Linked DNA regions of Homo sapiens: region 1 is linked to region 2. Evidence: promoter capture Hi-C in human tissues and cell types (Jung and others, 2019). All regions are on one chromosome and are shown on one strand. Each heading gives the region's core, a stretch centred on a gene start or on the middle of the fragment in contact. The rest is flanking DNA. Distances are from core to core; before and after follow the strand shown.

The links. Contacts are between HindIII fragments. The study calls those that stand out against the background at their distance.
Region 1: a contact is called between a fragment that was not itself captured here and the fragment with the promoter of CCDC97 in region 2, in 4 of the 25 tissues and cell types used here (IMR-90 fibroblasts, bladder, lymphoblastoid cells and 1 more).

Annotation. Positions count from the first base shown.
Region 1 is chr19:41,169,969-41,175,528 of GRCh38, forward strand. The region is part of intron 2 of LOC124904790; the gene reads right to left. It also overlaps the pseudogene RPL36P16. Among named protein-coding and RNA genes, the nearest start is that of CYP2S1, 20 kb to the right of the region's middle. The HindIII fragment of the contact is 4,900 bases long and covers 518-5,417 here.
Region 2 is chr19:41,308,429-41,314,332 of GRCh38, forward strand. CCDC97 (coiled-coil domain containing 97) reads left to right here and starts at 1,744. Exons shown (of 5, transcript NM_052848.3): 1 at 1,744-1,928. The coding sequence starts at 1,883. It overlaps LOC105372401 (a long non-coding RNA gene), which reads right to left and starts at 1,621. Exons shown (of 2, transcript XR_935968.4): 1 at 1,510-1,621; 2 at 1-1,397. RefSeq lists enhancers at 337-516, 1,790-2,079. The HindIII fragment of the contact is 30,341 bases long and covers 1-5,904 here.

The DNA of each region.
Region 1 (5,560 bases), core at 1,718-4,217, 140 kb before region 2:
CGGGACATGATCCGGGAGGTGTGTAGCTTCGTCTCGTACAAGCGGCTCGCCATGGAGTTGCTGAAGGTCCCCAAGGACAAACGGTCCCTCAAGTTCATCAAGAAAAGGATGGGGACGCACATCCGCACCAAGAGGAAGCGGAAGGAGCTGAGCAAGGTGCTGGCCACCATGAGGAAAGCTGCTGCCTAGAAAGACTGAGCCCCCTCCCCTGCCCTCTCCCTGAAATAAAGAACAGCTTGACAGGAAGAAAAAAGAAAAAAAAACCAGCAACAATTTTATGTCAAAAGTTTGAAGATTAGTGAACACATTCCTTAGAAAAATAGGCCAGGTGCGGTGGCTCACTCCTGTAATCCCTGCACTTTGGGAGGCCGAGGTGGGCGGATCACCTAAGGTCAGGAGTTCAAGACCAACCTGGCCAACACGGCAAAACCCCATCTCTACTAAAAATACAAAAAATTAGCCGGGCGTGTTGGCAGGCGCCTGTAATCCCAGCTACTTGGAAGGCTGAGACAGGAGAATCGCTTGAACCCAGGAGGTAGACATTGCAGTGAGCCGAGATTGCACCACTGCACTCCAGCCTGGGCAACAGAGCGAGACTCCACCTCAAAAAAAAGAAAGAAAAATAAATACAACTTGCCAAAATGGACACAAGGAGAAACAATAAATATGAATAATGCTAAAATGATTAAAGAAATCAAGTCTAAAATTAAGTATCTTCCCTCCAATGTTTATGATAACCCACTAGTGAAATTTACCAAATATCTAAGGAAGAAATAATGCCAATCTCACATAAACTCTTTTATGGTATAGAAAAAGCACAGTTTTATAAGGCAGGCAGAAACTTAATTGCCAAAACCTGCCTAAGACAATATAAGAAACGAAAATTACAGGCCAGTCTCACTACCAAACTTGGATGTAAAAATCATACATAAAATAGCAGCCAGGCACAGTGGCTCATGCCTGTAATCCCAGCACTTGAGGAGGCCAAGGTGGGTGGATCACTTGGGGTCAGGAGTTCAAGACCAGCTTAGCCAACATGGTGAAACCCCATCTCTACTAAAAATACAAAAATTATCCAGGCATGCTGGCAGGTGCCTGTAATGCAAGCTACCTGGGAGGCTAGGGCATGAGAATCGCTTGAACCCAGGAAGCAGAGGTTGCACTGAGCCGAAATCACGCCACTGCACTCCAGCCTGGGTGACAGAGCAAGACTCCGAAAAAACAAAAACTAAATAAGAGGACTTACTCTACCTGATATCAAACTTACTAGGGAGCTATGGTAATTAGGACAGTGTAGAATTACCCAAACATGAACAGAGACCAATGGAAGAGATTAGTCAGCCCAAAATAAGAACCCACTTCTGGTTGATGCCAAGGATGGTATTACAGAACCATGAGGAAAGGGTGGTCTTTTCCATAATGAGACTGAGACATTGAATACCTTTACGGGGAAAAAGGAAATTCGAAACCTACCTGACATCACATCAAATATTAATTCCAGATGGATCATATATCTCAATGTGAAAAGCTAAACAATAAAAGCTTTAACAGATAATCTAGAAGGGTATCTTTATGCCCCCAAGAGAGAAAAAGTGTTCTTAAAAATGACACAAAAAAGCACAAACATTACTGAAAAGATTGATAAATTGGACTACATTCAAATGTAGTTCATCAAAGACACCAGGAAGGGCTGGGCGCAGTGGCTCACGCCTGTAATCCCAGAACTTTGAGAGGCTAAGGCGGCAGATCCCTGAGATGGGGAGTTTGGCAGATCCCTGAGATGGGGAGTTTGAGACCAGCCTGACCAACATGGAGAAACCCCATCTCTATTAAAAATACAAAATTGGCTGGGTGTGGTGTCACATGCCTGTAATCCCAGCTACTCAGAGGCTGAAGCAGGAGAATCCCTTTAACCTGGGAGCCAGAGGTTGCGGTGAGCCGAGATCGCGCCATTGCACTCCAGCCTGGGCAACAAGAGCGAAACTCCAATTCAAAAAAAAAAAAAAAGGCACCAGGAAAAGAGTAAAACAGGGCCGGGCACGGAGGCCCACGCCTTTAATCCCAGCACTTTGGGAGGCCAAGGCGGGCGGATCACTTGTGTCCAGGAGTTCCAGACCAGCCTGGTCAACATGGTGAAACCCCGTCTCTACAAAAAATACAAAAATTAGCCCAGTCTGGTGGCATGCGCCTGTAGTCCCAGCTACTTGGGAGGCTAAAGTGAGAGGATCACTGGAGCTTGGGAGGTTGAGGTTGCAGGGAGCTGAGATCGTGCCACTGCACTCCAGCCTGGGCAAGAGAGTGAGACCTTGTCTCAAAAAAAAAAAAAAAGAAAGAAAGAAAATTGTAGGTGAAGGTAGAAGTATCTCCAGTGATCTTCAAGACTGGCACAATATTCTAAAAAGATACATTTGAACATAAAAATAAATGTTAACCAGACATCGTTTTTAGAATTATACAATACAAATTCTGGTGGGGAGTTGGCTGAGAGCCCCTCCTCCAGCTTCCTGGTGGTGGCGGTGTTCCACCTCCTGGGTCCCCACCCTCAGTCTCCCTTGCTCTGCCTTCTCCCCCACCCCACCTCCACATGCTAGAAACCAGGTCCTCTTCTCACCCTCTCTCCCAGGTGAGCCTGGTCACTCACAGAGCTGCAGAATCTGCTGTCTGTCTGCCAAGGACTCCCAACTCTGTGTCCACAGCAAGGATCTGTGCTAAACCACACTGGCCTTGCTGGGCCTCCAGCGCCATACACTCCCTCTTATGGCTTGTAACAGGTGTTTCCCCACCTGGAATGTTTGCTCTCCTCTCTCCTCCAAAGTCCTGCCCCTCCCTGAGGTGAGAAATCAGTTCCCCCACCTCCCCCACAGCCCCAGCACTCTGTGCTGAAATCATCATCAAAAACCCTGGTCTCCTCCAATCCCTCCTGCTACCCTCTCAGCCACCCAACATGCTATTCCCCCTGCAGGAACACTCTTCCCCATGATCTTTCTCGAGTCATTCTTCAGATCCATGTATCCCCTCCTCCAGGAAGCCCTCCCTGATACTCACCACTCTCCGGCCAGGGCAGGCACTTACTCTGGGCTCCCACAGGCCCCCTGGCCTCCCCCATCCCAGCCCCGACCACTCTGGGCAGTCAAGGTCTGGTGACTAACCTGCCTCCTCAACTGGACTGTGGGCCCCATGGGGGTAGGGCTGTCTCTGTCTCTACTGCCTCCCCAGCATCACCCAGTCAGGCCTGGATGCAGGCCTGGCATCAACTCTGCATAAAGGAGCGGAGGTCAGGAGTTCCCTGGGGCCTCAGTGCCTGGCACTGGTGGAGGGGCTTTCTGCATGCCACACTCTGGATCTTCTCCAGCTACTCCTTATTCTGGAAGCTGCAGCATGTTGAAATAAAAACTGGAACTAAATGGAGATGGAATGGACTTCACATTTGGACACATGGGTGTGTAAAGAGGAACGTGACTTCTCCAAAGTAACGCATAGAGGCCGGGCGCAGTGGCTCACGCATGTAATCCCAGCACTTTGGGAGGCCGAGGCAGGCAGATCATTTGAGGTCAGGAGTTCGAGACCAGCCTGGCCAACATGGTGAAACGCCATCTCCACTATAAATACACAAATTAGCTGGGCATAGTGGCACATGCCTGTAATCCCAGCTACTCCGGAGGCTGAGGCTGAAGAATCACTTGAACCCAGGAAGCAGAGGTTGCATTGAACCAAAATCGCACCACTGCACTCCAACCTGGGTGACAGAGCGAGACTCCGTCTCAAAAAAAAAAAAAAAAAAAAGTAACACACTAACCTCCTGACCCACCCAGAGTGGGTCTTACCTTCTAGAAAGATAGAAAAGAATAGAACCAGGCCAGGCTGACTCTGGCAGCTTTAGAACAATAGTAATGGCAGGAGTGGCCGGCGATGGACAGCTGGGGGTGGGACTGAAATAGACAGCAGCCAGGGAATAGTGGGTTGAAGGGAGAAAGGGAGTTATTTTTCTGTAGTCTTTGAAATTTTATTTTTCTCTTTCCTTTTTTGGAGACAAGGTCCTGCTCTTTTGCCCAGGCTGGAGGGCCATGGCGCGATCATGGCTCACTGCAGCCTCGAACTTGAGCGATCCTCCCTCCTCAGCCTCCCAAGTAGGTGGAACTTCAGGCGTCTGCCACCACACCCAGCTAATTTTTAAATTTTTTAAATTTTTTCTAGAGATGGGGGCCTTGCTATGTTGCCCAGGCTGGTCTCGAACTCCTGAGCTCCAGCGATCCTCCCACCTTGGCCTCCGAAAGGCCTGAGCCACCGTACCCGGCTGAAATTTGTAATCAACCCATAATCATCTATTACTTATGTAACTGAATTCCTATGAAAAGCATAATAAAGTGGAGATCATAAAGGTGCCGACTTCGGGCTGTTGTAAGATTTCGGTGCCACACCTAGCACAGAAAAAGCATGGAGAGCAGAAGGGCAGTGAACGCCAGCTGGCACACGTTGGCTACGTGCAAGTATTCGCCTAAACGCTGCGCAGGTATTCATCATATGATCCCCATAAACCTCTGAGGGCTGCACTCACATGTCATCCCCGATCTGCTGATGAGAAGTTCAGTTATAGGCCCAAGGTCACATATCCCGAGCCAGCGTAAAAGTGGAATCCAGGGAGGAGGAGGAGGAGGAGGAGCAGGAGGAGGAGGAGGAGGAGGAGGAGGAGGAGGAGAAGAAGAAGAAGAAGAAGAAGAAGAAGAAGAAGAAGAAGAAGAGAAAGGATTACTGTCCGTCTCTCTCTGGTTCTCTGCACACCCCTCACCTCCAGGGTTTTCAGTCTGTCTCTGGACCATTCTCCTTCTCTCCCCCTGCCCCATTCTCCAAAAGCCCAATGGGGTGACTTGCAGGCTGGGGGCACCCCCTGGTGCCTGTGTGCCGAGTGCAGAAAGTCAGGGCGGTACAGGGTGGAGGCAGGTGAGAGTGTGGGGGTGGTTTGGGTCCCACCGAGATATGGAAAGGTGGGTATCAGAGTAGAGTGCACTCATTCATTTCTTCATCATCACAGCCCAGAGGGTCCACTCTGTTCTGGGAGTGTTGGGGGGTAGGAGTGGAGCAAAACAATGCCCCCAGACGAAGAGAGCAGTGGGAGAAGGAGAGAAGGAGCATCCCAGAGCCATAGACACTTAGGGGCTGTGTGACTCTGGGCAGGTGACCTAGGGTCCTTGAACCTCAGTTTCCTCATCTGAAGATGGAGATGATATGTTAGTATCTCCCTCAGAGTATTAATGGATGCTAGGTACAGTTATAAGCTTCATTTACAGATGAGGAAAACTGAGGTTGGACAACTTGGCCAGTCACATAAAAGACGCAGTGGGGTGCTCCCTCAGCACCACTCTCCGGCTAAGAATTCTGGCTGCAGAGGAGGATGGACTCCAGGAGAAAGAACAGGCCGCCATTCCCATGGTTCAGCATGGACATCGGTGGAATGCTGTTAAATTGGTCTGTTTTGAGGCCGGGAGCGGCGGCTCACGCCTGTAATCCCAGCACTTTGGGAGGCCGAGGCAAATGGATCACCTGAGGTCAGGAGTTCGAGACA
Region 2 (5,904 bases), core at 494-2,993:
GACAATGCTGGGCCACAGGAGAAGCCAATTCAGCCCCAATCTTCCCTGGTGGGAGCTCAGAGCCTTGTGAAGGGGAGATGGGCAACAAAAACAAGGGAGGGAAACTGACTAGTCTCAGAATCTCGGGTAGGGCATCAGAACGTGAGAAGGAACCAAGGTTGGTGGCTAAAAGGGACCCTAGAATGCGCCAGAGAGGAGGTGGCAGGGCCTTTAGTCTGGAAAGTCCCCTTCCCTTCATGTCCATATGCTGGGCTACAGCGCCCTCTGCTGGCCTCTCCTGGTAATGCCTAGGAATCTGGGTTGGTAAATAGGGACCTCCTTGGCTTTCTTCCACAACTCCAGACCTCAAGGGAATGCAAATGGGGAAGCTCTTCCTCTGTTCTCAGCCAGTTTTTCTCACACGTCTCATCTCCAGTCCCTTGATGCCCACTCCCTTCAGAATAAAGGAGGTCAAGCCACTTACTATGGCTTATGAGGCCCTGCATGGCCTAGCACCTGGTAACATCGCTGGCGCCCTCTCTTTCTGCTCCCCCTTTGAATATCAAATCAGTGTTTATTTTGTTCTGAGGAGCCATAAGTCCTTTTTGGAACCCACAAATGATGCCATGAACCACTGCATTGGAGAATACAGAGGTACATGGAATTTTGCATAAAAATTCATGAGGTTCTCAAAACCTCCACAGCCCAATCATGGCTTTCAAGTTAGAGCTCCTTTCCTATGCCCTGACCGTAGTGAAGTGCTTGCAGCAACCAGAACCGTCCGTACGTGCCATCCTCCTCAAGACTCTTCCCTACCTTCCTCTTAACCCAGCTCCTACTCGTTCTTCAGGTCTTAGCTTGAGGGTACCCTCCCAGAAAGAAGGCTTCCTTGACCCTCCAGCCTGGGGTGGACAGCTCCCTCAGCCCTCTGGATCCATCAAAGCCCTGGCCACTGAGTGACATGTCTGTCTACTCTGCTGGTAACACCTAAATAGAGCCCCACCCATCCCATAGGGAAATAAGGACCAGAGTTGTCTTGTTTCACACCTGTAGATTTCCTCCAGGTCCTGGGAACACAAAATGGGAAGTTCTATCTCACTATCCATCTCATGCCAGCCAGAGACAGGGTATGATGACGGAAGTAAGCCAGGCTGGTGGCTCACGCGCGTAATCCCAGCATTTTGAGAGGCTGAAGCGGGAGGATTGCTTGAGGCCAGGAGTTGGGGACTAGCCTGGGCAACAAAGTGGGACCCCTGGCTCTACAAAAAAATTTTAAAAATTAGCCGGGCGCGGTTGTGCGCGCCTGTAGTCCCAAGTACTCCAAAGGCTGAGGCAGGAGGATCACTTGAGCACAGGAATGTGAGGTTACTTGAACTGTGATCGCGCCACTGCATTCGTCTAGGCGACAAAGCGAGACCCTGTCTCAAAAAAAAAAAAAAAAAAAAGAGTCAAGGCTTAGTAATATTCCTGAATTCCTGAAGGAGTTAAGAAAGGAAAAGGACAAGCGGGGGTCTAAACGAGAGCACGAACCCTCAGCGTATGACGGCTCCAGGCTCCGGGGGAAAGTCCTTTAGCCATCCATCCCAAAATTAAGCACGCTGGGAGCTGGAGTCACAGCAGTGATAAAACGAACAATGATTCTGGTTCCTACTGACTGACAGGAGAGGTTTAAGGGTCTCTCACTCTCCGGGGAGCCCCTTTCCTTCCTGGCTGCGGAGGGCGGAGCCCGAGAGAGGCACGCATGCGCAATGCAACGTCTGCCTTAGGCCCGGAACTTCGGTGCCTGGGCGCAGCGGTGCACCCGGACCCGGAACATTCTCAGGCGAAAGTGTCTCTTGCGTGCGTGGGCCGGAGGTTAGTGTGCGGGGCCCGCCGGGCGGTTGAAAAGTCCGAGAGAATCAGGATGGAGGCCGTGGCGACGGCGACGGCGGCGAAGGAACCCGATAAGGGTGAGATCTTGGTCACGCGCAGGCGGCGGGTGGGTGCGGTTGCGGTGTCTCTAGGAAATGATTCCCCCAGGAACGCGAAGTAGGACTCGTTTTAGGGGGACACCCACCCCCCTCAGCTTTACCGGTCCTCTTCACTACTTTGCCCAGATTATTCCCTCCCTTGTCGCGGGCTGACCTTCTTTTCCTCCATTCCTTCCCCCCGAAATTAACCTCTTCCCAGTTCCAGACCAATCCTTTCCATGTCCCTAATTCATTTCCTTACCAGGCTAACTCTCAAATTAACAGAAACCTCTCTACCCCGGCCTAATTCCTGCATTGCCTCAGACCAGCCCTTCTCAAATTACCTCCTTCCCTGTACCAAGCTGAGCCTTCCCTTGCTCTCTAGACGAATCCTCCTACCTTTCCAGGCTAAACTTCTACCTGCCTCATGCAAACTTATCCCAATCTAACGATTCCTTCATTTCATTGTAACTCCCGTTTCCCCCAAAGTCCGAAATCCAGCCAGGCTCCTTTCAAAGTCCTTACTCAATTTCTGTGCTTTCCCACAACCTTCAAAGTAATCCGACGTCGGGTGAGGTGTGATTGGAAGCGTGGCTCCAACACCACTGGCCAAGAATTGGTAATTGTGGAAGCCAGATGGAGATGATTGGTATATGGAGGTAGGGGGAGAATTGTCGTTGTACTTTCTACTTTTGTGTATGTTTGAAATTTTCTAAAAATAAAAAATTTAACCTAAAAAAAGTCTTAAGGCCGGGTGCAGTGGCTCCCGCTTGTAATCCCAACACTTTGGGAGGCCAAGGCAGGAGAGTTGCTTGAGCCCAAGAGTTTGAGACCAGCCTGGGCAAGAGAGAGAAACCTGATCTCTATAAACATTTAAAAATTAGCCAGGCCTGGTGGCTAGGGAGTAGCTAGGACAAGCTACTCAGGAGACTAAGGTGGGAGTGTCACTCGAATCCTTTGAGATTGCAGTGACCTAAGATTATTACACCACTGCACTCCAGCCTCTGCAGCAGAGTGAGACTTGAGCCCAGGAGTTTGAGACCAGCACTGGCAACATAGCCAGACCCCATCTCTACAAAAAATTTAAAAATTAAGGCCGGGCCCGGTGGCTTACACCTGTAATCGCAGCACTTTGGAAGGCGGAGGCAGGAAGATCACCTCAGGTCAGGAGTTGGAGACCAGCCTAGCCAACATAGCGAAACCCCATCTCTACTAAAAATACAAATATTAGCCAGGCGTCGTGGTATGTGCCTGTAATCCCAGCTACTCGGGAGGCTGAGGCACCAACTGGAATCACTTGAACCCGGGAGGCGGAGGTTGCAGTGAGCAGAGATCGCACCACTGTACTCCAGTCTGGGTAACAGAGCAAAACTCTGTCTCAAAAAAAAAAAAATTAGCCAGGTTTGATGGTGCATTCCTGTGGTCCCGGCTACTCAGGAGTCTGAGGCGGGAGGATCACTTGAGCCCAGGAGGTCAAAGCTGCAGTGAGCTGTGTTTGCACTATTGCATTGCAGTCTGAGCAACAGAGCAAGACCCTGTTTCAAAAAAAAGAAAAAAAATTTGTCTCTTGGCCCCATCTGTCTCCTTCAGAGAGTCATGTATACTTGGTCTTCATTTCCTCGTCTCCTGCTCACGACTGTCTGACTTTTCTCCTAAGAAACTGCTCTGATTAGGGTCTGCACTGACTTCCCCCATGTTGTTCAATTCAGTCCCCCCATTCAGGTTTTTGTTTGTTTGTTTGTTTTTTGAGAGAGTCTCACTCTGTTGCCCAGGCTGGAGTGCAGTGGCATGATCTCAGCTCACTGCAACCTCCACCTCCCAGGTTCAAGTGATTCCCGTGCCTCAGCCTCCCAAGTAGCTGGGATCACAGGTGCCCGCCACTATGCCTGTCTAATTTTGTATATTTTTAGTAGAGATGGGGTTTCACCATGTTGGCCAGGCTGGCCTCGAACTTCTGACCTCAAGAGATCCTCCTGCCTCAGCCTCCCATAGTGCTGGGATTACAGGTGTGAGCCACCACACTTGGCCCATTCAGGTTTTTTTTCTTACTAGACTGGACTAGAATTAAATGCTGTTGATCCTTCCATCCTTTTTGCATGTTTTCCTTTGGCTTCAGCGACACCACAGTGCCTGATTTCCTGCCTGTCTCTCAGGCTGCTCCTTCTCAGCCTGACTTTGTTTCCCAGGGGTGCTGTAACAAAGTACTACAAACTGCATGGCTTCAAACAACAGAACTTTATTCTCTCATAGTTCTCAAGGCCAGAAGGCTGAAGTCAGTGTTGCTGAACTGAAATCCAGGTGTCTGCAGGGTCGTGCTTCCCCACAGGCTCTGGGAGAAAACCCATTTCTTGCCTCTTCCAGCCAGTGGTGGTTTCTGGAATTCCTTGGCATGTGGCTACATCACTCCAATCTCTGCTTCCCCTTTTGACGTTGCCTTCTTTTTTTTTAAGACGGAGTCTCGCTCTGTTGACCAGGCTGGAGTACGTGATCTCGGTTCACTGCAACCTCTGCCTCCGGAGTTCAAACAATTCTCCTACCTCAGCCTCCTGAGTACCTGGGACTACAGGAGTGCGCCACCACACCTGGCTAATTTTTTGTATTTTTGGTAGAGCGCCATGTTGGCCAAGCTGGTCTTGAGCTCCTGACCTGAAGTGATTCTCTCACCTTGGCCTCCCAAAGTGCTGGGATTACAGGGGTGAGCCATTGCAACCGGCCTCTTTTTTTTTAAGATAACAGTAATGGGCTCCAGGGATTACGATGTAGCTATCTTTTGCACAGCCAGTTTTTAGCTTCAGAGGCATGTCCTCCCCGCATCTGTGCAGTGCTTTTTCCTGGACCCTCTTGTCATCCCTCTCCCACTCCCCTGTGCCCTCCCCAGTCCCTACCTCTCATTTCTCTTGGCTTTGGTTCTTGTCTTGATTCTGATGACACCCACAGCTCTGTCTCCAGCCCAACATTTCTCTCCTGAGGAGTCTGGAGGCCCGTGTAGCAGCAGTCGGACCATTCCCCTGGATGCCTCCCTTACTTCCAGCACGTCAGCCCTGTGGCTCCTCCACTCAGCCTCCTGACATCTTTCTGATTCGCTCACTCATGATCCTGTTCCTTCCTCCACAGCCCCTGCCCTTGTCCAGCTCAGTCTTCAGCTGCATCAGTGATTTAAATCCTCCCTGATACACACAACACATGTATGTCACCTGTGACTTCTTTCCTCCCCAACCCAGCCACGCTGCTTAAAGTTGTCTCTATATTCTGTTTTCACGTATTTCCTGCTTGCCGCAGGCTTGCTCCCTCCACTCTTGGGAAACAAGTCTCACCAAGGTTTGCCCAGCGCTCCGCTTTCCTGTTTTCTTTCCATTTTTTTGAGACAGAGTCTTCACTCTGTCACCCAGGCTGGAGTGCAATGGCTGATCTCGGCTCACTGCAACCTCTGCCTCATGGGTTCAAGCGATTCTTGTGCCTCTGCTTCCTGAGTAGCAGGGATTACAGGTGCCCACCACCATGCCCAGCTGATTTTTGTATTTTTAATAGAGAGAGGGTTTCACCATGTTGGCCAGGCTGGTCTTGAATTTGTGGCCTCAAGTGATCTGCCCACCTCGGCCTCCCAAAGTGCTGGATTACAGGCATGAGCCATGGTGCCCAGCCAGCTTTCCTGTTTTCTTTGCCCATATTATTGTTGATCCTGACTGTCTCCCACATCAGACTGGGTGCTCCCTGAGGGCAGGAGCTGGACTGGATTCATCCTATGGATCCTCAGCATTGCCTGACTTAGGGCCTCTCAGAGATTTAGTGTTTTTTTTTCTTTTTTTTTTTTTAGAGTTTTGCTCTTGTTGCCCAGACTGGAGTGCAATGGCACGATCTTGGCTCACCGCAACCTCTGCCTCCCAGGTTCAAGCTATTCTCCTGCCTCAGCCTCCCGAGTAGCTGGGATTACAGGCATGTGCCACAATGGCTGATTTTGTATTTTTAGTAGAGACGG